Regions from separate parts of the Homo sapiens genome. Here all the other regions are linked to region 6. Evidence: promoter capture Hi-C in 16 types of primary human blood cells and fetal thymus (Javierre and others, 2016). All regions are on one chromosome and are shown on one strand. The core of a region is centred on a gene start or on the middle of the fragment in contact, and the rest is flanking DNA. Distances in the headings are between cores, read along the strand shown. Region 1 has its middle 560 kb from the start of VRK2. Region 2 has its middle 580 kb from the start of VRK2. Region 3 has its middle 600 kb from the start of VRK2. Region 4 has its middle 660 kb from the start of VRK2. Region 5 has its middle 500 kb from the start of VRK2. Region 6 holds the start of CCDC85A (coiled-coil domain containing 85A). Region 7 has its middle 670 kb from the start of VRK2.

Region 1 (3,387 bases), core at 144-2,643, 1.3 Mb before region 6:
ATATTAGGGTTGACTTATAGCATCAGGGATGTTTTCAGATTAATAATGTTATATATTTATTTCTATTTTTTTTTACCTCAAACTCCAATTTAGGGCTTAGATAACATTTTAGACAATATATTTTATGTCAGAGACCACTGGCCCATAAAAAACAATTATCCACATTGTAAAATAGAATTATTTTTTCCATAAGATAATAGAATTTTCATATATACACACCTTTTAAATTAAGTAGAGTGCATAGTTATGTATTCATTTTCAGAAAAATATGCATGTTATGCATATGCCCACAGTAACACACACACACATATGCACACACACACAAAATCTTCACTTCTATTATTGGCTTTAGAGAAGAAAATAAGTCTTAAGGAGAAGTGGAAAGAGAAATAGGCAAAGGTGAGGGATATGGAAGTGGAATAGATACACATAGCCTGAAAGGAAACAGACAGCCTAAGGCCCTGGTGTCTTTCTGAGAAATTTCAGTAATGTGGCTCATTTTGATGTTTCAGCCTTGTATCTTCCAAACTACAATGTACACTGCTCTTAGAATCATCTTTGCACAAATCTGATTATATAATTTTCTTGCCTCATTACTTGTGATGATTTCTTATATTCTCTTGAATGAAGTAAAAGTTTCTTAGTTTGACGTTTTTCTCACAACCTACTTTTCTCTTTTTATTGGCCTTAAACATCACTACACACATTCTACCCTGCAGCTACTTTGAACCACTTTCCATTTCTTTCAAGTGTGCTACTTCTTCTGTGTGTGTTCTTTTTCTTCTCTTTTTCTTGCACACAGTTATGCGTGAGCATAATGAGTAAAATGGTTCTATGTCATTTCTTGGAGGGAAGCAAAGTTCTCTGCCTTTTCCCCTGCTCCCATTCCAAAGACAACTAATTTCACCTCTATTGAGTAATTATTTTGGCATTGATCTAAATTTCTAAATAAAAGCTTACATTGCAGCATTTTTATTTTTCAGCCTGAATTATTAATAGCTGACCTCCTTTTTAATGTAAGAATTTGGATATTTTTAGTTCTCCAATTGCTATTTCCACCATGCATGAATGGTACTTCTATCCCCCAACATTGTGATATTGTTATATGGAATTTTTATAAGACTGCTGTTCAGTATTTGCATTATTATGTTGTAAACACTGCTTACAACTGATCCGGTCAATAAACTATAATTACTTTTCCCTCCTAGAAACCTTTTTATTTTACTGGGAACTAATAATTTTCATATCTTTACGTACTCATCAGTAACCAACTTTTTAAAAATTTCCTGAATCTCCTCTAAAGACATTTAGTTATTTCACATATTCTGTCCATTTCATCTTCCTGAAGCAGTACTCCTTCTAGTCAGATTTGACTGCCCTCTGTTCTTGGAGCACAGCTGTTGTGTGAGCCCCTCCTTTCACATATATTCAAGGATTCCCTTCACTGCTATCCACGTTTGATTTCCTGTTTCTTGTTATCTCATATCTCTCTTTTTCTTAGTTTATATCCTCATCTTGATGGAGCACATCCTTCAGTATTTCCTCGGAATGCATGCATGGGAGGTCACTTCTTTGAAAACCTGTGTGTTTGAAATTATTTTTATCTCATCCCGACTCTTACTGAAAGTTTGGAAAGGTATAGAATTCTATGTTGAAAATCATTTTTTTTTGAGATTTTCAAAGACATTTGTGCCGCTGAAAATGACTAGAGTAACACAAACAATGCAACTGAGTAGTCTTACTTTAAATTCATGGCCAAAAACTTCAGATGAGCAGAGGATCACACTCTATTTCTGTAGTCTATTTATTTTCCCACTCTCCTAGAAGCTTATTTCACGTTCTTCCTTTCTCTTCAAATATCAATTTTCCCTGTCTTCTTACTTTCAGCTGATAGTCTTAATGACAATTTCACTGAGACAACTAAAACATTCAGCAGAGATCCCCAGATTCATACAACTACATCTATCCATCTACTAGCATCTGATCCAACAACTGGGCCTTCCTTCCTGGTCCCACAGATGTACTGATAAACCATCCATGCTCTGCTCTAAAACCTATTCCTTCACTTGAGCACCAGAAATTACTTTCGCATTTCTACAGCTCACTAATTTTCTGTTGTCAATCAGACCTTCTGCCTTCCATGGATATGGGTCTGTGTACCAATTCCCTCTGCCCCATTTATCCATGGAAAACAATTCCATTTATAATAGGTACACAAAATAAAATACTTAGGAATAAATTTAACCAAGGAGATGAAAAATACAGGTCTTAGAAATTACAGAACTTTGAGAAAAGAAATTACAGAATATACAAGGAAATGAAAAAATACTCTGTGTTCATGGGTTGGAATAATTCATATTGTTAAAATGTCTGTACTTCCCAACTTGATCTACAGATTCAATACAATCTGCATCAAAATTCCAATGCCATTTTTTTTTTACAGAAATAGGAAAAACAATCCCAAAAGTCATAATGGAACCACACAAATGTACACACACACACACAAAAAAAACCGTAAACAGCCAAGGCAATTCTGAGCAAAAAGAACAAAACTGGAAGCATCAAACTACAAACTACCTGACTTTAAATTATAAATACTTCCCAACTTGGATATTTTGACTTATGATTTTTACAGTTTACACTGGGTTTATTGGGACATAACCCTATTGTAAGTCGGGGATCATCTGTATATTACAAACCTACAATAATTAAAATAGCATAATACTGGCATAAAAATAGATATATCAATGAATGGAACACGATAGAGAGCCCCTAAATGAACCCATACATTTATAGTCAATTGCTTTTGACAAAGCTGTCAAAAACATACAATGGGGAAAGGCTTGGGAAAACTGGATATTCAGTGCAGAAGAACAAAATTGGACCCTTATCTCACACCATGAACAAAAATCAACTCAAAATAAAGACTTGAATGTAGGGCCTGAAACTATAAAAGTAATAGAAAAAACATAAGGCAAAACTTATATAACATCGGTCTCCGCAATGATTATGTTTTTATATTTGACTCCAAAATCTCAGGCAACAAAATTGAGAATGTCTTGAATTGTTTTCCCTCTTTCTTCTACATCAAATTTTCCCTTTCAAAAGAATCAAGCCAATCAGCATAGAACCATGCTTTTTCTCTCATTTTAGAAAAAGAAAGAACATTTCTCTTTATTCTACTACAGCTATAATTTTATTATGTCATCATTTTTAAAACAGTATTTTGGAGCTTTGTTGGTATTATCCTGTTCTAAGTTTGTGGTTGCAATTAAATCTCTTCTCTCTCTGGTATTAATTATAGGGTTCAATTTTCAAATTTTTAAAAATTAACTTATTTTACTGTAAGTGTTCTTCTTCCTGAATAGATTCTATTTTGACAAAGTT
Region 2 (3,666 bases), core at 187-2,686, 1.3 Mb before region 6:
GAGAGATTCTGTCTCAAAAAAAATAAATACAAAATAGAAAAAGCACAAGATTACAGATATAAAGGTTGAAAGGGTATTTGAGAAAATTAAGAAACACATTCCTAATTTTAAAAACTCTAAGTAATCCATAAAAGTAGAGACCCACTTAACTGTAAGAAAGACAGTTTACCAACAATAGTGGAAAATATTATCCCAAATCAGTAACTCCAACTGCATTTCAATTAAAATCAGAAACTAGATCAAAATGTCATAACCACAAGTATTCTAACACTGATTGCAGTAAATACAAAAGTAAAATAACCTAACTGCAAAATTTATTTTAAAATTGTAAGAAAAAACAAATATCTAATATGTGATAGGAAAATATGAGAAGGAAATAAGTTACAATATATAAAAAAGAGAACTAGATATTAGAACATAATATAAAACCACATTAATAAAATTAAGGTGGTATTGATGTAAACTAGCAATAGACAAATTGATCAGTGGAATCCAGTCATGTTCAAAAGCAGACTCCATTGTATATGTGAGAATTTAATACATAATCACCTTGATTTTTCTCTTATAGTGAGGAATATGTGATTTGTTTAAAAAATTTACTAACATAAACAGGCATTCCTTTAGAAGAAAATGCTGTATTCAAAGAATAATTCCAAAATTATTAAGTAATATATGAGACTAAAAGCACTTGCAAATTACAAAGATTCTTTCTTTCTCTAGTGTCTTGTCCAAAAATGCAGCTGGGCTAGGTGTTTGTAACGTATGTGTGTGTGTGTGTGTGATGTATTATGATCTGAATGTTTATGTCTCCCCAAAATTTATGTTGAAATCCTACCCTCAAGGTGATAGTACTAGGAGATGAGGTCTTTGGGACATGATTAGATGAGGAGAGTGGGTCACTCATGAATGACATTAGTGTACTTATAAAAGAGATCTGAGAGCGATTTCTCACTCCCTGCACATGGGAGAACATAGCTAGAAGGCATCACCTATAAGCTGGAAAGGAAGCCCTTACCAGACACCAAATCTACCTCAGATTTGGACTTTTCAGAGCCCAGAATTGTGATAAATAAATTTCTGGTGTTTATAGCCTACCCAGTTTACATTATTTTGTTATAGCAGCTTGGATAGACTAAGACATTGTGTGTGTGTATACACATATATACATATATGTTATACATACATGTATTTTCTGGGAAATAAAATGGAAATAAAGGATATGTAGGAATTATGAAATTTAGGGTACAGGTGAGCTAATGTAGGTTCAGGGAAAAGAGAAAATGTGGAGTCAAGCTTAAATGTTTTTTAAAAGTATGATAAAATATCCAAGATATGTGTTGTTATTTTTATGCCCTCATAAAAATTAAGTATGTGACATGTATATTTTTAAAATATCCTAAAAATGATTTCAGATTAGAAAACAACTAAGTTACATTCATTTGCAATTAAATTATCTCTGTGAATATAGTTTAACCAAACATATTGATAGGCAATGAAGACTGTGGTTTCTATAATCACTAGGGATATTCCAGTTCACAAATTTTCATGGAATGTAGACCCCCCACTAAATGAAGCTTATACACAAAGGAGAAATATCTTTGAAATTGCTATTCCAATGCTTGGTAGCTTATATTCATTAAGTTCATGATAACATTTTCTCAGGAAGTTAATCTCCATGGATAGACCTTAAGGTTGAAGTTCAATTTATACCCTAGGTTAGCTCCTTATACTCTCTATCCACCATAGTTAGATATTAGAGCTTCTTAAAACTGTCACCTCTATTTGTTGCATCATCTCTGATTTCTTTCATCAGTGTTTTGTAATTGTCATTGTAGAGATTTTTCACCTTTTTGCTTAGCTGTATTCCTAGGTATTTTCATGCTCATGGGTAGGAAGAATAAATATCATGAAAATGGCCATACTGCCCAAAGCAATTTACAAATTCAGCGCTATTCCTAACAAACTACCAATGTCATTTTTCACAGATTAAGAAAAAAAAAAGATTCTAAAATTTTTGTGGAATAAAAAGAGCCCTAAGAGCCAAAGCAATCCTAAGCAAAAAAAAAAACAAAGTCAGAGGCATCATGTTACCTGACCTGAAACTATACTGCAAGGCTGCTGTAACCAAAACAGCATGGCACTGTTCCAAAAACAGACAGGTAGACCAATGGAACAGAATAGAGAAGCCAGAAATAAATCTGCACACCTAAAACAATCTGATCATTGACAAAGTCAACAAAAATAAACAATGGGGAAAAGACTCCTCATTCAATAAATGGTGCTAGGATGACTGGCTATCCATATGCCGAAGAAGGAAACTGGATCTCTACCTTTCACCCTATACAAAAATTAATGGAAGTCAGATTAAAGACAAATGTTAGACAGGAAAAATAACTAATGGGTACAAGGCTTAATACCTGGGTGACAAAATAATCTGTACAACAAACCCCCATGATACAAGTTTACCTATATAACAAGCCTGCACATGTACCCCTGAACTTAAAAGTTAAATTAAAAAAAAAAGATTCTAGAAGAAAACATAGAAAAACTCCTTCTCAATATTGGCCCTAGCAAAAAATTTATGGCTAAATCCTCAAAAGCAACTACAACAACAACACATTGACAAATAGGACCTAATTAAACTAAAGAGTGTCTGCACAGCAAGAGAAACTAAAGAGAGTAAACAGACAACCTATAGAATGGGAGAAAATATTTGCAAACTATGCATCTGACAAAGGCCTAATATCCAGAATCTATAAGCAACTTAAATCAACAAGCAAGAAACATACCCCATTAAAAAGCAGGCAAAAGGGCACAAACACACACTTCTCAAAAGAAAACATACAAGCAGCCAACAAATATATTTTTAAAATGCTCATAATCACTAATCATCAGAGAAATCCAGATCAAAGCCACAATGGGATACCATCTCACACCACTCAGAATGGGTTTTGCTAAAATGTCCGAAAGTCACAGATACTGGCAAGGCTGTGGAGAAAGAGGGATACTTATACACTGCTTGTGGGAATGTAAATTAGTCCAGACACTCGGGGGAGCAGTTTGGAGGTTTCTCAGAGAACTAAGAGTTAAACTATAATTGGATGCAGTGATTCCACTATCAGGTATGTACCCAAAGGAAACCAATCTGTGAATCTGGTCATTCTACCAAAAAGACACACGTACCCATACGTTCATCACAGTGCTATTCACAATAGCAAAGACATTTGCTAGATGCCAATCAACTCTGGATTGGATAAAGAATATGTGGTACATTTATACCATGGAATACTATGGAACCATAAAAAGAATGAAATCATGTTCTTTGCAGTAACATGGATGCAGCTGGAGGCCATTATCCTAAGTGAACTAATACAGAAACAGATAACCAAATACTGCATGTTCTCATTTATAAGTGGGAGCTGAACATCAAGTACACATGGACATAAAGATGAGAACAATAGACACTGGGAAATACAAGAGGAAGGAGAGAGAGAAGGAGTCAAGGGGCTGAAAAACTACCTACTGGGTGCTATGCTCACCACCTGGGAGACAGATTCATTCATACTATGAACCTCAGCAGCATGCAATATACCTGTGTAACAGTCCACATGTTCCCACTAAACCCATAATAAAAGCTGAAAAATAAATAATTTTTAAAAAACTGTC
Region 3 (3,198 bases), core at 194-2,693, 1.3 Mb before region 6:
AAGATACTCACTCTTAGAATCCAGGTGCCATAATGTGTGGAAGTTTCAGTCATATGAAGAAACCATGTGTAGGTGTTTTGGCTGAGAGCTCCCAGTGAGGTTCTAGCTCATAGCAAGCATCAGCCTACAGAAACTTGACTGAGGTGGCTTTTGAGATGACTCCAGCCCAGATGCTGTCAGACTGCAACTTCATGAAAGACCATATGAGACAACCACCTAGATAAGGTTAGTCACCACAGAATGAGGAGAGATAAGAAAAATAAACAATAGTTACTGTTTTTGCTAGAAGTTTGGGATTTCTTAGGCAGCACTAGATAACCAAAGCTTTTCTACTTGAAAGAACAACTGATATTATAAGCATCAGAGAACAACAACAACAACAAAAAATAGTATTTACAAAAACCAAGAGATGTCAGAGACAGATGAGATCAGTGTAGGTCATCGTATCTAAAAAAAAATTCATGGAGAAAGTGGAACATAAGCTGGATATTGAAGGAAGATTAAGTATAACATCATCCAACAAGAAGTATATCAATTAATAAAATCAAGTAGCACAGTATAGAAGGTGAATTAACATTCTTCTAAATAAAAAATATTTTAGTGGTTTTTATTGAGGAGGTAATTTACATAAATTATGACTAAAGAAGTTAGTAAACAACTTTAATATCACCTCATTTCTTAATTTGGAATCACCATTTTACCTTGAATAATATAAGATCACCTTGTGCTAATGTCAATAAAAAAAACTGATTGAACTTGTAACATACAGAATAGTCAAATATTTGATCTCTATAATGAAAAATAAAAATATGCTGTATTACTGTATTTATAAACCAGAAAAGTTATGCAGTCAAGTAAACTTGAATTAACAAACACCATAATATAGGTATCATTTTTCTTATCTTTTAAAAGACTTTGATGAAAAGGAGTTTTGGATTCATAACTAAAGAAGGTATGGTAATCTCTACACTTTTATTCATCTTGCATTAAATGGAAAGTTTGCCAAATAATCTGATAATTAAGAAGAATATTGCACATTAATTTGACACTGCCTTTACTATCATAAATTTCGCTTTACATTCCCAAGACCTCCTGTCCAATAGAAGAGATGACTATATGATATAATGTTGTTTTCTGCACTCAAAGTGTAAGTCTTTGAATAGACAAAATGTCTAATAGGGTGTAATTTCCTCTCAGACTTGTTGAATATCGATCATTGGAGTGGAATCTCTCATTTTATCTTCTAGTAGAAGATTTGAACTAGCTCATAAACCAGCTCATTCTCATTGTGGTAGGTTAGGTTACTCCTCATCACATATTAACTGCCTACTCCTCTGCATGGCCAAAGCGTACTTCTCCAGTTCATAGGCAAAAAATTTGGCTATATGACTGGCTGTGGCCAGCTGGGTTGTGGGCAACAGTGTCAGAAGGCTAGTTCTGAGCTGGGATTTTGGAAGGATTTGCAATGGAAGAACATGCCCCAGGCGTTCATTACTCCTTCCAGTTGTTTTCTAGAATGACTGCATGCAAAGCAGATCTGAACCCAAATGTAATATCATCCAGCATATCCAAGCTCAGACAAAATCTGTTGAATTGCAGCCAAATAGCAGACACGTGAGTGTAAAATAAATGTCTGGTATTTTAAGCTACTGAGATATTAGGGTTCTTATTATACATTATTTTTAAAGCCTGACTAATATATATGTTTTGAAATATTAAAAACAATTTTATTCCTTTAAGTTTTCAACTCTTCTTGAAACTATAGGAATGAAATTTGCCCCAGAAAAGAGCTATCAGTTTATTCTAATCATTTGTTATATTCCAAATATGTAAGGACTTATTAATAGTTTTCTAAAGTAAATATTTTGCCAGATCATTATTTTACTGATGAATTTTATAATCCCATTTATGATATATAAGTGAAATTTATTTATATCTATCCTACTCAATCTGGATAAGTTTGGAGTATACTAATGTCTTCTTAAAGAACAAAACACAGTGAGCATGCTGACAGACAGTGCCCATGAAACTCCCTTTTAGAATACAAATGTTTTTGGGTCAGAGTACATTTTGTTTAAAAAAATCTGTTCTCTAGGGAATAACTTGAGATATTACAGGGAAATAACTTTTCTTGTAATGCTATACTTTATAACCAAAAACGCACACATAAAAACCAAAAAGCAGTCAACCACTTGTCACTAGAGCAAAGAAGTTGTAAATTAGATAGACTATCTCCGACATGTGGCTTTAGGCAAATTTTCTTATTACTCAATCCATATTTTGCTCCTCACTTATTTTAGTTCATAGCAATTTCTATAGCTTATTCAACCACACTCTAGATTGCTTTCCAGGTTTTTATTGTTTCACACATATTTCTTTGTGTAGAGAAATCTTGTTCAGAAGCTCAGGTATTGCTTTGTTTCTATTATAAAGACTAAGTTCTTCCTGAAGGATGTATGATAATGCTGCCATTTAGACTGTAAGTAATGAGTCCAGGCTCCACTCCAGGTCCTACTCTGCTTTATAAGTTTGGTTCTAATATATATTCTAATTAAAGCTTCATTTTGAATCAAGCTAATCCACGGACTACGTGCTGTCTGCAATCCTTCAATGAACATGTGCTGCTTATGTTTATTTTTTTCAGGTTGTAAGACACTATTCAATTATTCCAGAAATGCATACATCTAGTGTGCAAAATGAAAATCCAAGTGCTGAACACTAGTTAAATTTGAACAGAATTGCTAAGTTAAATAAACAGAAAATAATTTGTCAGGGATCACGTACATATTCACTTGCTCCAAAAGGGTAGATGGCTCATATAACATTTTGGAAACCCATCTTCAATCTATTTAATGAGTTAAGCATTCTTGAGTAATAATAATTGTTATTTATTTAATATTTTAAATCTACTATGGTACTTGATTCTTTAAATAGCCCTAGGGAGAAGCTAACGCATCTAAATCATAATAATTTAATGAATTATAAAAAGGGTATTTCATATCAGGAGAGAATTGCCCATCTGATAACCTAGATCTGATTGTGCTTGGAAGAAAAAAAGAAAACTCATGTATCTACCTTATAATATTATCTCATATGCATATTTTCAATTGCATTAAAGATTTATTTAAAAATAAAACTACAAGTGTACTAAAATAAATATAGATGAATATGTAAATAATATTTGGCTGAAATGGCTAT
Region 4 (3,668 bases), core at 102-2,601, 1.2 Mb before region 6:
CATCATGCCCAGTAAAATTTTTTTTGTATTTTTAGTAGAGATGGGGTTTCTCCATACTATGTTTATTTCATATTGTACTGGAGGTTGTTTTGAGAGCATAACGATAAGAAAAAGAAATGAAAGATACAGATTGAAATGAAAAATGTAACACTGCCTTTATTCACAGATGATCAGACATGATTGTACAAAATAAAAACTCTAAAAATGTATAAGACAAATTTTGTATCTAATAAATAACTTCAGCAAAGTCATGAGACACTAGGACATTAAAAAATAAATTGTATTTCTATATAATATTAGTATATAGTACTAGTGTATTGAATCATGTAATCACAAATTTGTACCATCTGAGACCTAAGACTGTGACCTATTTGGAAATCTGGTCTTTGCAGTTAATTGAGTTAGGAGGTGGTTGTACTGTGTTAGGGTGGGCCCTAAATCCAATGACTAATTTACTCATAAGGAAAGGAGAGATCACAGAGACACAGAAAAGTCATGTGAAGATGGAGGCAGAGATTAAACTTACGTTGCTGCAAGCCAAGGAACCCCAGAGGTTTTCAGAAGTTGGAAATACATAACTACTCTATGATCCAATTCCTAAGATACATTAAAACATATGTTCAAAAAGAAAAGACTTCTTCATACCTGTAATCCCAGCACTTTGGGAGGCCTAGGCGGGCAGATCATGAGGCCAGAAGTTCGAGACCATCCTGGTTAACACAGTGCAACTCCATCTCTACTAAAAATACAAAAAATTAGCCAGGCGTGGTGGTAGGCGCCTGTAGTCCCAGCTACTCGGGAGGCTGAGGCAGGAGAATGGCATGAACCCGGGAGGTGGAGCTTGCCGTGAGCCGAGATCATGCCACTGTACTCCAGCCTGCATGACAGAGTGAGACTCCGTCTCAAAAAAAAAAAAAAAGAAAGAAAGAAAGACTTCTGCAGGAAAGTTCACAGAAGCTTTAAACACACACACAAAAGAGCCCCAAACAAAAATGGTGAAAGTGTCCATCAGTGGGATAATGAATTAAAAAGTTGTGATATGAAGTAGTGATAAACCAAACAGTTTGAATTAATCTCAGAAGCCAAATGCTGGCCAAACACAGAGCACATACTATATTATTTCATGTATATGAAATCCTGGTTCGTGCCATATGAATCTACGGGTATAGAAGGAACTGAAAGAAGCTTCCTGTAGAAAAAGTGAGGTTGCCTTTAAAGAGGATTTAAGAACAGTTTCTAGGTTAGGCTGATAAAAAATGTGTGTATATCTTGATTTAGGTGGTAGTTATGAGTGTATGCATGTATCAAAACTTTAAATTGCAATGAACTCCAAACACACATACGCAAACGCTCCAGTTTCTTAAATGAGTCTCTGGCAGCAAATCTTGATACCACATTTCTGTTTCTTCTCTCATTAGTATTTTTAAATGAAAGTTAAAATAAATTGAAATACAATTCTGTTTTCAAGTATACTATTTTAGTGGATCTTATCCTTTTCCTGGTCTAATTGAAGCTTCACACATTTAATGCCTTTCGGGGTGACTGATCCATAATTATGCCCAAAACTTCATGCATTTCAACTGAATGGTGTTACATATTTCTTAATCATTTATCTCCAATTTGTAGTGCTCTTCACAAGGTTCCTTATTATGTCAGTTTACCACACACCCACTTAGCTACATGGCATATTGGACTCCACCTGTGTTGGGTTTGTAGCTTCCTCTACTTCTTTCCTCCCCAGCAATTTTGGCTGATTAGTATTTCCAGTTAGTTCACAGTCACTGCCTTTCTCTAGATCATTTATAAAGATTAAAGTCAGCAGAAATCCAAGGACTAATCTCAGCAGGATGCCAGACAAGTATATTCTCAATATATGTCTTTGTCTATTAACAAGGAAATGAGGTAAAAGAAAATATCGACTTTAGTATATAACTGTTTGCAAAAGAGAATATTGGGTTCAAGGATTGACAAAATAGTCTGTCCAGAATCCATAGCAACAAAGAAACTCCGCTGCTAGAAGCATAGGTTAAAAAGGGAGCCGTTTGAGGAAGATAATTACTAGGCTAGAACACTTAGGCACCTAAAATGAGCAGAGGCATTGTGGTCACCCTGTGAACAAGGGTTTTATTAAAGATATGGTGAGTCAGGCTATCAGAGATAAAGATATTAATGGGGCTGTTAGGCAAATCTGAAGATATCATTGAGGAGCATGCAGAGCAGGTGCAACGAATAGCAGGGCTTGACTGCTACAGGGTCTTTTTGTCCTGCAGCTCGGCACAGAGATGCCTAATATCTCAATACTTTAAAAAAGTAGAAAAAAGGCTATGTATTTGCAACAACTTCTCATATGGCTCTCAGCCTGAATTCTATAGGCACTAATGTATCAGAGCATATCCTGATGTATTACACTCTTTGTTTTACTACTTGTGAAATATACCCCAAATTTACTATTTGTGAATTCCAAACTAGAGGATAAAACTCTTCCTTCTACATTTTATACTCATTTCCAACTGGTCAGATGTGTTTGATTCTTCTCTTACACAGTTCTCAGGTCATCCTCTCCTCACTATTCCCACCACCACTATCTTTGTTGAGAACCTACTCATGAGATTTATTGCAATAAATTCAGCCATTGTTTTTTATACAATGTAACTTAAAAAGTTCCTAGTATTTCCAATGATTATGAAGATAATACTACAGGTAATACTACTTCTACTACTACTGTTACCCTGTGTAATGCTTTCATGACATAGCTGAATTTCTACCCTGCCCTAGTTATGCTTATCTTTAAGAAACAAGAGACCTGTGAAAAAAAGTGTCCTTTGTAACCAGACCAGCTGAGATTGGTTAGAACCATCACAGCCAATCAAATAACTTAAAAAAGACCTCAGGCTTCACTATAATCCCATTTCCATGCTAAATAACATTCCCATCTCTCACCATAACAATGACCAGAAGAAGCCCTAAAAGGACTAAATGAAGGCAGAAGTTCACCACTCATTTCCGGAAAAGACATGACTATTCCTTCTCTCATTTTTAATATTCAATCCCATCACCAGAGAAATCCTATATTTTAACCCCTTACTCCTCATTAGTTGAGTTTATTAGTGAGCCGTTCTCCCCCTTCTCAATTTCATGGCCATGGAATCAATTCTGCACTGCTTGATGCCCACTTTTTGTTTTACATATTAGTTTCATAACACTGAACAGTGAAAGACCCCATTTTCTGGGGAACCAGACTTGTTGGTAACAATACTACTACTACTGTATCCCATTACAAACTTGTCTTTTCCCCAGGGTATGTTGTTGGTACCTTTGACAAAAATGAGTTCACTGTAGATGTATGGATTTATTTCTGTGTTCTCTATTGTGTTCCACTGGTCTATGTGTCTATTTTTATGCCAGTACAATGCTGTTTTGGTTACTATCGCTCTTTAGTATAGTTTTAAGTCAGGTAATGTGCTTTTTACAATTCTGTTCTATTTTTTCTTTTTTAATTTATTTATATTATTTATTTATTTTAAAAATTTTTGTGGGCACATAGTAGGTGTGTATATTTATGGGTACATGAGATGTTTTGATATGGGCATGCAATGTGAAATAACCACATCATGGAGAATGGAGTACCTATGCCCTCAAGCATTTATCCTATGAGTTACAAACAATCC
Region 5 (3,198 bases), core at 450-2,949, 1.4 Mb before region 6:
GCAAGCACGTGTTTGTGTGTGTAATATATCAGTTTTTTTCTCTCACATGTGGGACCATATTAAACAGGTTGTTGTGTATTTGTCATTTTGCTGAAAATTGTGTATTAAAAAGGCTGTCTTGTAGCTGTGTCTTGTTCAGGTGTCTCTAAGACTTCCGTAAGGCCATTGAAGCATTTCAACCTTATATAAAAGGTTGGCTAGTACAAAAAGATGATGAATTTAGGCAACGGAGCTATATTTAATAAATGCCATTTTTAGGATTCATGTCGAAAGAATTGGCGAGTTCTTTAAATTTGGTTTTGTTTTTATCAAAGAAATACTTGCATGGAGTATCACTGATCAAATAGTTCTGCAAGGCTCATAGCCAAAATAAGTAGTCCTTTTACTGTACTTTGCGAGTCATACAAACTCCCATTCCTCAGAGGAGGTAATTTTTATCATTTTTAAAACTTTTCTAGATTACATACTTTCTTATTTCTATGTAGGATGCTTGTGGGCAAATTTTACATTTAGTGAATTTTATGGAATATCTGTTTCTTTTCTACTGTGCAAAATGAAGACTCGTGAAGCATCTTTCAGCCCTCTTTCCAAACACACAGGCACATATTCTCTAATACAATCAATAAAGTTACATCAAATATGGCTTGATCAATATTCAGTGTGTGGACCCATTTGATCGTATATATATTATCTGCAGATGGGACTTTTTATGACTTGAGAAAATCTGGATTTACACTATGTTATGTAGAAAAGAGTATTTTATTTCTTGCTTTCCTGGAGTTAATAATTACCTCTTTTTAACCTTTGCTTAGGTTTCTATCTACCTATTAGTAATTTCTTTCTAAATTCTCAAACATTTGAAAATCTTCTCTCTATATATTCAAACACATCAGTTCCTTCCTTCCTCTTTTTTCCCTTCCTTCCTTCTTTCTTTCTTCCCTCCCTCCCTCCCTCTCTTCCTTCCTTCCTGCTTTCATTTCTTCCTTGATTTCTTTTTTCTTTTCCTTCCTTCCTTCCTTCCTTCCTTCCTTCCTTCCTTTCTTTCTTTCTTTCTTTCTTTCTTTCTTTCTTTCTTTCTTTCTTTCTTTCTTTTTCTTTCTTTCTCTCTCTCCTTCCTTTCTTCCTTCCTTCCTCCTTTCCTTTCCTTTTCTTTCCTTTCTCTTTATTTTTTCTCCTTCACTCCTCCCTTCCTTCCTTCCTCCCTCCCTCCCGCCTTTCCTTCTCTCCTCTCCTTCCCTCTCCCTTTCCCTTCGCTGCCCCTCCCCTCCCTTCCACTCCCCTCCCCTCCTCTCCCTTCCCCTCCCATCCTGTCCTCTCCTCAGCTTTGTTCTCTTCTCTCCTGTTGCCCTACTCTAATTTGAATGGGCCTGTGGCACAACTGTCATTCTGCAAACGTTCTACAGATTTTCCCTTGCTAGAGCACCTGGATTCTGTGTCTTACACTTTTTTGACTTATGCTTTCATTTGGGGAATAAATTGTTTAGGAACTTCCAAAGAAAACGTGCTTGAGTGTTTTTGTTTTTGTTTGAAATTTGATAACCTGGCTGAAAGGAACTTCTAGATCATAAATCATTTTTCTCAAAACTTTGAAAGCAATGTACTCTTGTTTTCTAGTTTCTAGTGTTTTCATTTTTACTTGTTTTTGTTTTGTTTAGAGATTTCTGAAGCACTTTTGACTTCTTACCTTGTGCATGTGACCTCCTATTTCCTCTTGAAGTGCTTAGGATCTTCTTTTTGTATTCAAGGTTCAGAACTTTCGTATTTATGTGTCTCAGTGTGGTTCACTCTTTATTCTTTTTTGCAAACAATATGGTGGGTCTTTTCTTGAAATATTTCTCCAACAATTGTACTTATTCAATTTTGTTTATCTTTTCTCTTTCTAGAATTCTCTTCTTTTTATATTAGATCGCCTGAACCAACTTTAGAATTTTCTTCTCTCCTTGCAGTTTCTTCTTTTCTTTCTTCTTTCCTTTCTTGCTTTTTGTTTTTGTTTTTATTTTTTTCTTTTGAGACAGAGTCTTGCTCTGCCACCCAGGCTGGAGCGTAATGGCATAATCACTACACTATTTGTAAACCTGAACTCCTGGGTTCAAGCAATTCTTCTGCCTCAGCCTCCTGAGTAGCTCGGACTACAGGCACACACTACCGTGCCTGACTAATTATTTAAAATTTGTTTGTGGTCTCACTGTGTTGCCCAAGCTGGTCTCAAACTCCTAGCCTTAAGCAATCCTCCTGCCTCAGCCTCCCAAATCTCTGGGATTACTAACATGGGCCACAGTGTCTAGCTTCTTTCTTCTTTCTTTTACTTTTTTTCTCTTTATTTTCTTCCTTCCTCCCTCCCTCCCTCCTTTCTCTCTCTTTCTTTCTTTTTTTCTTCCTTTCCTTTCCTTTCCTCTCCTTTCCTTTGCTTTCCTTTCTCTTCCTTTCCTTTCTTTTTTGTATTTTGGGTCTTTTTTTGAGATTTGGTCAATTTTCTAAAATTTCTACTGAATTTTTATTTTCCTTTGGCATGTTTGTATTTTATTTCAAGAGCACTCCTTTGTTTTCTAAATGTTCTCTTTTGTGTAATCATCGCTTCTTTCATGGAAGCAGCAACCTCAATTATTTCTCTGAGCATAACATGGCTGGGTTATTTTTCCCCTGCTAATTGTATTCAGCCTTCCACACTGTCTCTATTTTCCAAGTTTCTTTGCGATTTTTCCTATCTTTTTTTTTTTATTTTGATCTCTGTTATCTTAGGGACTTTTCTCAAATGTGTGGTAATCCATGACTTTAGTAGTGAGCCACTAAACTTGATTAAAGGGGGGTATATGTGTAAGAGAGAGAGGAAAATATGTTTGTTGAGATTCATTATGGGTAGGTTTGTTTGTGCAGCTTATTTAGGAATTTCTGTCAGTATCTGTGGATCTCTCCTCTTAAAATTGTTTTCCCAGAGAATAAACCTGTAGTATTCTCTGGGGCAAACAGAGAGGGATAGTTCTCATACTTTAGGGTACAGAAACAAATTTTATCTTTACCTTCACCGTCTGCTGTATCTGATGTTTCTAAACCCAGAGCCCTTCTGTTCTATCTCTTCAGTAATTAAACTTACAGTCCTATAAAGTGGTGGGGGTCTAGCTGTTCTTTAGAAAGACTTGACTTTATTAATTCATTTCTTCAACAAATATTTACCAAGTGCTTACAATATGCCAAACACTA
Region 6 (3,242 bases), core at 483-2,982:
GAAAAGAAAGTTAGTGGGCTTGGGGTACGTTTCCCTTCTTTTCCTAGAAGAGGGTGGCAGGGGGGCTGGCTCAGAAAGAAACCATCACTGACCAACACTTGGGGTACTCTGTCAAAATGCTGCTCCTTCCATACTGAGTCTCTTTGCTCCTCCTCTTTCCCCCAGTCAACCTGGGGTTAAGTGGGAAGGGGAGTAAGGCAACTCCAGGGGATGCCTTCCAAACTCCGGGAGAGGGAAAGCACAGGAATTGGGAGAAGACGTGAAGGCAGAGCTTGAACTCCTATGTACCCGGTGACACAAGACTGCTCTGAGGGTGGCGCCCGCTGCTTCTCCCGGGCGCCCCGCCAGCCGCTCTCCCTGGCAGTGGCGCCCTTTCCTCGCCCTCTGCCCGCCCAAGAGCTGCTGGCCCAGAGCAGCCGCATTCCCGACCCTCCAAGGCGAAGATCCCCTGGATTCACCCCCTCACTGGCCTTTCCGCCTAACTGACTGAAACCCGGCTCCCCAGGCACAGATTTTCCAGCCTCCCTAAGAAATGAAAGGTTCGCGTGCCCTTCACCTCCCTCCCTGCTTTCCAGCGTCCTCAGCGCCTCCCCGAACAGCCAGACAGTGGAGCGCCCCGTGTTGGGGAGAGGAGGGGAGCAGACGCCTCCGAAGTTTGGAAAAGTTACACAGGGGCTGGGGACTGGGGGTAGGGGGTGCCGACCGGGAGAAGGGGAGGGTCACCTGTTGAGGGAGGGAGGGAAAGTTTGCCTGGCCCCGCCTCCTCCTCGGGGCACCCCGCTCCCAGCCGCGCCGCGCCTCCCCACCTGGCCCGCGCTCACCTTGAGGCCGCGGATCTCGCCGAGGTGCAGCTGCAGGCGGCGGTTCACCTCGCGGATGAGGTTGCTGTGGTCCAGCATCGCGCTCACCTTCTCCGCCTCGGCGCGCCGCAGGCTGCGGATCAGCTCCTCCTTGCTCCACTGCAGCAGCTCCTCGTCCGACACTTTGGACAGGTCCTCCACCGGCGCGGGCGGGGCCGCGGACGAGCCGGCCGGGGCTGGGGAACAACTTTCCGCCGCCGCCGCAGCCGCCGCCGCGCCTCCGGCCGCCTTCGACATGGTATCCGCGGGGTGGCAGGTGCAAGTGGGTGGAAGAGGCGAGGCGACTCCCGAAGGCGCGGGCGCGGCGAGGCCGCCTCCGCCCACACCCCTGTGCGCTCCGGCGAGTCAGCGGCACCGCCCAGGGGCCGCTGGGTTGGGGCGGCGGGGGTCGCGCTGGGTGGCCATCCTACCTCGCCATCCCCGCGCGCGCGCCCGCGCTCCCCCAGGGCCCGGCAGCCAGCCGCTTGCTGCTGCCGAGGCCCGTCCCAACTCCGCGCAAGTCCATGGTGAGGGGCACTGGGGAGCCCGGGGCTGCCGCGGGAAATCCTCGGGGACAGCGGGGGAGCTGCACCGCCGTTCCCCTGCCCTCTCCTCCGCCCTAAGCCGAGACTGTCGCCCCCCGCACTCTCTGCCCTGCACACAGGCGTGCACGCACACGCACTTTCCTCCCCCTTGCCCAGCTGCAGCCCCCGGCTTCTCCCCTCTCCTAGCTTGGAGGGCGCGCCGGGCACCGCGGCGCCTCCCCGGCTGCTCTAGCGACGCCGCCGCGGCTGCCCGAAGGCTGCTGCGCTCCTCCTGCCGCCTTCGCTGCGCCCGCGGCCGCTCCTAGGCTGCTCCGGAAAGCCTTCGATTTGCAGAGCGGAGTCGAGAAGGGGTGGAGGGTGGGGGACCGGCTGGAGGAGGAGCCTGGAGCTGGGGCCACCCGTAACCCGCAGCAGCTCCCGCATGGGCTGGACGCAGCTGCCACTCGACCGCTGCCCGGGCCCTCGAGGTGCGCTCCCGGCTGTCCTGCCCGGGAGGGCTGGGGGCGCGGCTCTTTCTGCGCCCGGGCGGGTGGGGCTGGAATGGGGAGAAGGTGAGGAGCTGTGGCCGCCCGGTCTTTGGGAGGCTCGCGCGCGCCACCGTGTGGCGGAAGAAGCTCCCTCCTCTGCCCTCTGCACACCGGCCTTGTCACCAGGCAGGGGAAACAGCTGCTGACCCAAATGCGAGGTGCTTCGTATTTGGAGGGATCGGGGATCAGGAAAGATGGGGTAGCAGGACCTGAGGGATAACCAGTTATTTGCACTTTGGAGAATGGGAGGAGAGGCAAATGGCAAAAACGGGGGTTGGGGAAAGGGGCAGCTTAAGAAAATCCAAATGGTCTGAAAAGGGCGAAAAGAGGCGTCAGGGCACTGCTCTTATGGGGCTACCCATCCCCACCCCCCACTCTCGCCCCACCCCTAGGCCTTTGTGTTTTCTAAAAATCCACTACTCTATGAAGAAGCTTCGGGAGAAGGTACTGGATCTTTTAAATTTTTATTTGAAAAATATCAAAGCCTTTAGGCGAAAATAAAATACCTTCATCTCCTGCTTCCTGAAACCTGGATTTTAAGGTCAGCACAGTCACCTCCCCTCGGAGCAAAGCAAGCCCCCTCAGGCAAGCTGAAATGCCAGCCAAGGAGATTTCCATTTTCTTCTATGCCGCAGGCTGCCAGGCGTTTACTGGGTCGGCTTTTTTATGATGGTTATTTCTGGAAGGAGGAAGTCTGAGTCCCTGGCTTCTATCTTTGGGCTATCCTCTTGTAAAGTTGGGTGGAATCGTCTCTGGGCTGAAAACATGCTTTTGCCTAAAGAGGTGGATGCCCTTGACCACCGCATGTTATTTCCAGTGGGGTACAGGGCCGGAAAATGGCAAGGATCTACCCCCACCGGGTTTCAGTTAACCCGGGTGCAGAGGGAATAATCTCTATCTGGTAGGATGATAATCAAAATCAGTCCCTTCACCCGCCGGTCAGTGCGTGTCCCCTATTGGGGACACTGAGACCTGGCTCCCGGGAGAGGCAAGGAAATGTGGTACTGCTTACGGTGACCAAATGGCCTTAACATTCCCCTCAGCTTAACTAAACTTTAGACAGGTTTCTTCCTAACTGTAGGCCCCAGACCTTCCTTTTCTCAGAGCATTTACTTTAGCCAACTTCCATTGGTGAATGTTTCCTCTGACCCTTTGACATGTAAATCTCTCCGCCTCTTGCTGGGTTTTACAGCCTGGGGATCTTTCTCAGGGATCTGTGAGGCATCCCTTTGAAATGTAATCATCAAGGAAAAAAGGGTCCCTATCTCCTAGTGTTTGTGGAGAGGAGGAGCCTAACTTTAATAAGTTCCAATTAGGAAACACAAATGGCC
Region 7 (3,612 bases), core at 700-3,199, 1.2 Mb before region 6:
TAATCTCATATTACATTTACAAATGATGTTACACTTCTTTAATGTGATTTTCAGAATGTTTCAATTTTTAAAATAATAAGTATGTCATATGTTCTTTAAAGTACAGTCTGTAAGTTCTAGGAAAAAGACACACAGGAGAGAAAAATTAAAATTTCATAAACCAGTTTGGATAAGCACAATTTAATTCCCAGAATCAAGGAATAAAAAACTATGCTGATTTCATTATTGTATAATTCTGTTTCTTTGGATTACAATTTCAAATTCAAACAATGGTTGAAATTGTTTTTATAAATATAACTAATTCATGGAAAGAAAAAACTCATCTTCCTTTAAAATACTTTGGTGCAGACTTTGTGGTAAACAGCAGGGTTTATGAATTGCTAATAATTACTCAGAAAGTTATCTCTCCCTATTTTTAAAAAGAAAGGTTAGAATATACAATGTGTAACATTTTTTAGTCTGTAAACTTGTCATTGTAATGGTATCTGTCACAGAAGCTTGTTGAGAGGTTAAGTTAGTAAATGTTAGCGCTAGTTTTATTAGTTTGTAGAGATGAATAATTAATGAAATAACATCAGAAAATCAATAATTTAATAAAATACTTAAAGCAATGACAATAATAAAAGTACCAGAGCTCATAAGTAAAATAATTTAGAAAATCAAATTTCATATAGTGTGAAAAAATAAATCTGATTAAACATTAATTTTTCTAAGAAAATCTTTTACATTTCTCTACACATAGTCTTAATATTGTCATTTGGGGTAAAATTTAATATACAACTAAAATACATTTAATATCTTACCTTCTTCAAATACATGAAGATTTATAAAACTGAAAGAGCAAACATCTTTATCTTCCTCTTTGGTAAAATGCCTATAGCAATTTATTTCTTAGAGAAGCATAAGAACTTCCAGCAAATTAACAAATCAAATACAAGTGCCACTCAGGACTTTACTAAATAATTTGTCTTACAGTTTTTAGGGGTAGCTTTCACGTAAAATTCTTCAGTAGCTGATACTCAGCACCTACAAGTTTCCACGCACCCCAAGTGCCTAGCTTTCTAAGTTAATTTTAGCTTTGAATGTATATTTGAATTTGCTTTCAATTCCTGAGATTCCATGTTATTCTCACCAAGCAATGCTTTGATGCTTTATCACATGTCATTTTCTCTGCCTGAAAAAGTATTTCATCCTCTTTGATCCTGTCCCATTACTAGCCACTCAGAAAATTTATATTCCATCAGGGATCACTTTTCTACTATTTCCCATTGCACTTTTTATGTATCTTCTTCATGGCAAGAATGCTGCTTCTGTATTTTGTATGTACATATGTTTTTCCACTTGACGATTAGTTACTTGAGTAAAGGACACGACCACATTTGAATAGTTTTACATTTTATTTTTTAAACTAGCCAAACTCGTCCATATTTCAGGAGCTCCTGGCAAAGACAGCTAGTAACCTAGTGAACATCTATTATCTTTGCTAGACTACAAATACTACTTTGACCCGTTACTGCTAGAAATAAAGGCTAAATTTTCAATCTTATTTGCGCTAGATGTGGTCAAATAAACATTAAGTATTGGGAGGGAATTCTGGGAAGGTTCTTTAAAGGGATCTTAGTCAACTGGAAGGAGCACCATTTTTACTCTTCTGCCCTGCTTAAAAATTAAACTGTTATGTCAGATGTGATGACCAGAGCCTTAGCCATTATCCTGACTTTGAGAATGGATGCCACATTGTAAGACGGTGAGGCACCCTGTTAGATCAAAGAGCCAGATCCACAATACCATAAAGCTAATGTAGCAAACTGGAGAGGGCTACTTTACATGAGACATTAAATATTTGAATATTAAGGCCATTATATTTTGGTACTCTGTTACTCTGTCAAATGCAATCTCTACCTTACACAGAGCTAAGTTAAAAACCAAAAGAAACAGAAATGTTAAATATAACATTCATTATTTTGTGGGCAAGATAAAAGAAAAAGGCATTGTAACAGTAAAGGCACTTTTAGTACTTACTCATCACCTGGTTTTTTGAAAATACAATAAAAATTTAACAAAATAACCATAAAAGTATTTTAACATGGCAACATTATGATTCATGTGCTGTCATTTGACAATGTGGACTTTGGACTTTTAGATATGATCTCCTTTGGCTTTCAGAAGACTATCATCACTAGCAACAACTTCTATTTTTGTTACTTTTTCTTAGTATTTTTTGTATTCTCTTCCTCCATATGCCTTCAAATGTCATTATCCATTAGAGTTTTATTTCTGACCTTTTCTCTGCTCATTTGTTATACTCTTCCTAGGTGTGCTCTTCAGCTGACAGAATATCAAGTGCTAAATTTATGGACTTATGGGTCAAGACCTAAACCCACATTTGTAACTCTTTAATGAATATCTCCGTTCTTATGTCTCGTAGGACCTTGCAGAATCACCAGGTGTAAAGGACTTGTTTATTTCTACTTTCATTCTCTGTCCCAGCTCTCTTAGTCACTCCTCCTGTAGTTTCCTCTATCTTGACTATTTGTACCACTGTCCTTCTCTAAATTAGAATCTTCATCTCCAATTTCTTTCTCCCATCCATGACTATCAGTCACTAATGATGACCTCAGAAATGGAGGCTGGATTCATTATTTCCTCCCTATCTAATGGGCTTTGGTATTCGATTACTCATCACTGCAGCAGCCTCATAACTTCCTGACACATATTTCTCATTCTCCTGGCTAATTCCCCACTCATAACTCATGACGCCACTGCTAATTGTTTTCAAAAATATACCAAAAAAATTGAAATTTGATCCTGTTTATTGGTTCCTCATTGTCTACAAGCCACTGTTCCGATTCTTTGTCACAGAAAGTCTACCACAATCTATCTTCAGCTATAGGTTCTATGCCCCAGCCTATCTGAACTTCCTCAATACTCTATGACCTTTCATTCCTTTCTGGACTGTGCTCTTGCCTCTGTCTAAAAGATTCTTTTTTTAAATTTTCTTTTAAATTTCTTTTTGATCACTTTAGTAATTCCAAATTCATATTAAAATTTGCTTTCTTTGCAAAGCCTTAGTCAGTTCTCCAAGAAAGTTAGTGATTTTGTTATATATGATATTATAAACTCTAAAACAGCACTTACTTCCCTATAGAATACACCTTATAAACTATGACTTTACCAATTTGGCTCCCATACTGTACTTGAGACTCTTGAGGGCATGGGCATCTTAAAAAGTATTATTCCTTATAATTCCCTAAGATTTAAAAGAAGATGCTCAACATGTAAAAAGATAATCTTTTCTATACAGGGGATACGATATAAGTGAAAAACATGGCCAGTCTAAAGATTTACAAGACACGCACTCAGCAGTGGTGTACAAGGATATAAATTGTCTTTAAAGCTTATTTTAGCAGGTTTTTGCTGGTCAACTAGGATATGCCAAGAACACGTTAGTAAAGATGTACTGCAACTTTTAAACAGATCTGTAGAGACTACCTAGAACCTTTATTAAAGCAAACTCATTCGGCTTATCTCAGTTTAATGACTACATGACTTAGCTTACTGCTCTTAAAACAAACACATCAAAGAAAATTTTACCTATAGGTCAAATTTCCA

Evidence for each region. The method cuts DNA at HindIII sites, captures the fragments that hold promoters and counts their contacts. A CHiCAGO score of 5 or more calls a contact.
Region 1: a contact is called between a fragment that was not itself captured here and the fragment with the promoter of CCDC85A in region 6, in 7 of 17 cell types (monocytes, neutrophils, total B cells and 4 more). The highest score is 13.2, in monocytes.
Region 2: a contact is called between a fragment that was not itself captured here and the fragment with the promoter of CCDC85A in region 6, in 2 of 17 cell types (monocytes and M2 macrophages). The highest score is 7.4, in monocytes.
Region 3: a fragment that was not itself captured here is called in contact with the fragment with the promoter of CCDC85A in region 6 in 1 of 17 cell types (monocytes); the score reaches 5.4 in monocytes.
Region 4: a fragment that was not itself captured here is called in contact with the fragment with the promoter of CCDC85A in region 6 in 2 of 17 cell types (M2 macrophages and monocytes); the score reaches 6.6 in M2 macrophages.
Region 5: a contact is called between a fragment that was not itself captured here and the fragment with the promoter of CCDC85A in region 6, in 4 of 17 cell types (M2 macrophages, monocytes, M0 macrophages and 1 more). The highest score is 14.1, in M2 macrophages.
Region 7: a contact is called between a fragment that was not itself captured here and the fragment with the promoter of CCDC85A in region 6, in 4 of 17 cell types (M0 macrophages, M2 macrophages, M1 macrophages and 1 more). The highest score is 10.1, in M0 macrophages.

The regions. Positions count from the first base shown.
Region 1 is chr2:57,483,355-57,486,741 of GRCh38, reverse strand. No RefSeq gene overlaps it. Among named protein-coding and RNA genes, the nearest start is that of VRK2, 560 kb to the left of the region's middle. The HindIII fragment of the contact is 872 bases long and covers 958-1,829 here.
Region 2 is chr2:57,466,331-57,469,996 of GRCh38, reverse strand. No RefSeq gene overlaps it. Among named protein-coding and RNA genes, the nearest start is that of VRK2, 580 kb to the left of the region's middle. The HindIII fragment of the contact is 281 bases long and covers 1,296-1,576 here.
Region 3 is chr2:57,447,298-57,450,495 of GRCh38, reverse strand. No RefSeq gene overlaps it. Among named protein-coding and RNA genes, the nearest start is that of VRK2, 600 kb to the left of the region's middle. RefSeq lists a silencer at 89-168. The HindIII fragment of the contact is 2,233 bases long and covers 327-2,559 here.
Region 4 is chr2:57,389,592-57,393,259 of GRCh38, reverse strand. No RefSeq gene overlaps it. Among named protein-coding and RNA genes, the nearest start is that of VRK2, 660 kb to the left of the region's middle. The HindIII fragment of the contact is 328 bases long and covers 1,188-1,515 here.
Region 5 is chr2:57,545,837-57,549,034 of GRCh38, reverse strand. No RefSeq gene overlaps it. Among named protein-coding and RNA genes, the nearest start is that of VRK2, 500 kb to the left of the region's middle. The HindIII fragment of the contact is 5,465 bases long and covers 1-3,198 here.
Region 6 is chr2:56,182,480-56,185,721 of GRCh38, reverse strand. CCDC85A (coiled-coil domain containing 85A) reads right to left here and starts at 1,732. Exons shown (of 6, transcript NM_001080433.2): 1 at 822-1,732. The coding sequence starts at 1,097. LOC100129434 (a long non-coding RNA gene) reads left to right here. Exons shown (of 3, transcript NR_125368.1): 1 at 1-24. RefSeq lists a silencer at 1,733-2,062. The HindIII fragment of the contact is 6,654 bases long and covers 1-2,345 here.
Region 7 is chr2:57,372,787-57,376,398 of GRCh38, reverse strand. No RefSeq gene overlaps it. Among named protein-coding and RNA genes, the nearest start is that of VRK2, 670 kb to the left of the region's middle. The HindIII fragment of the contact is 2,900 bases long and covers 500-3,399 here.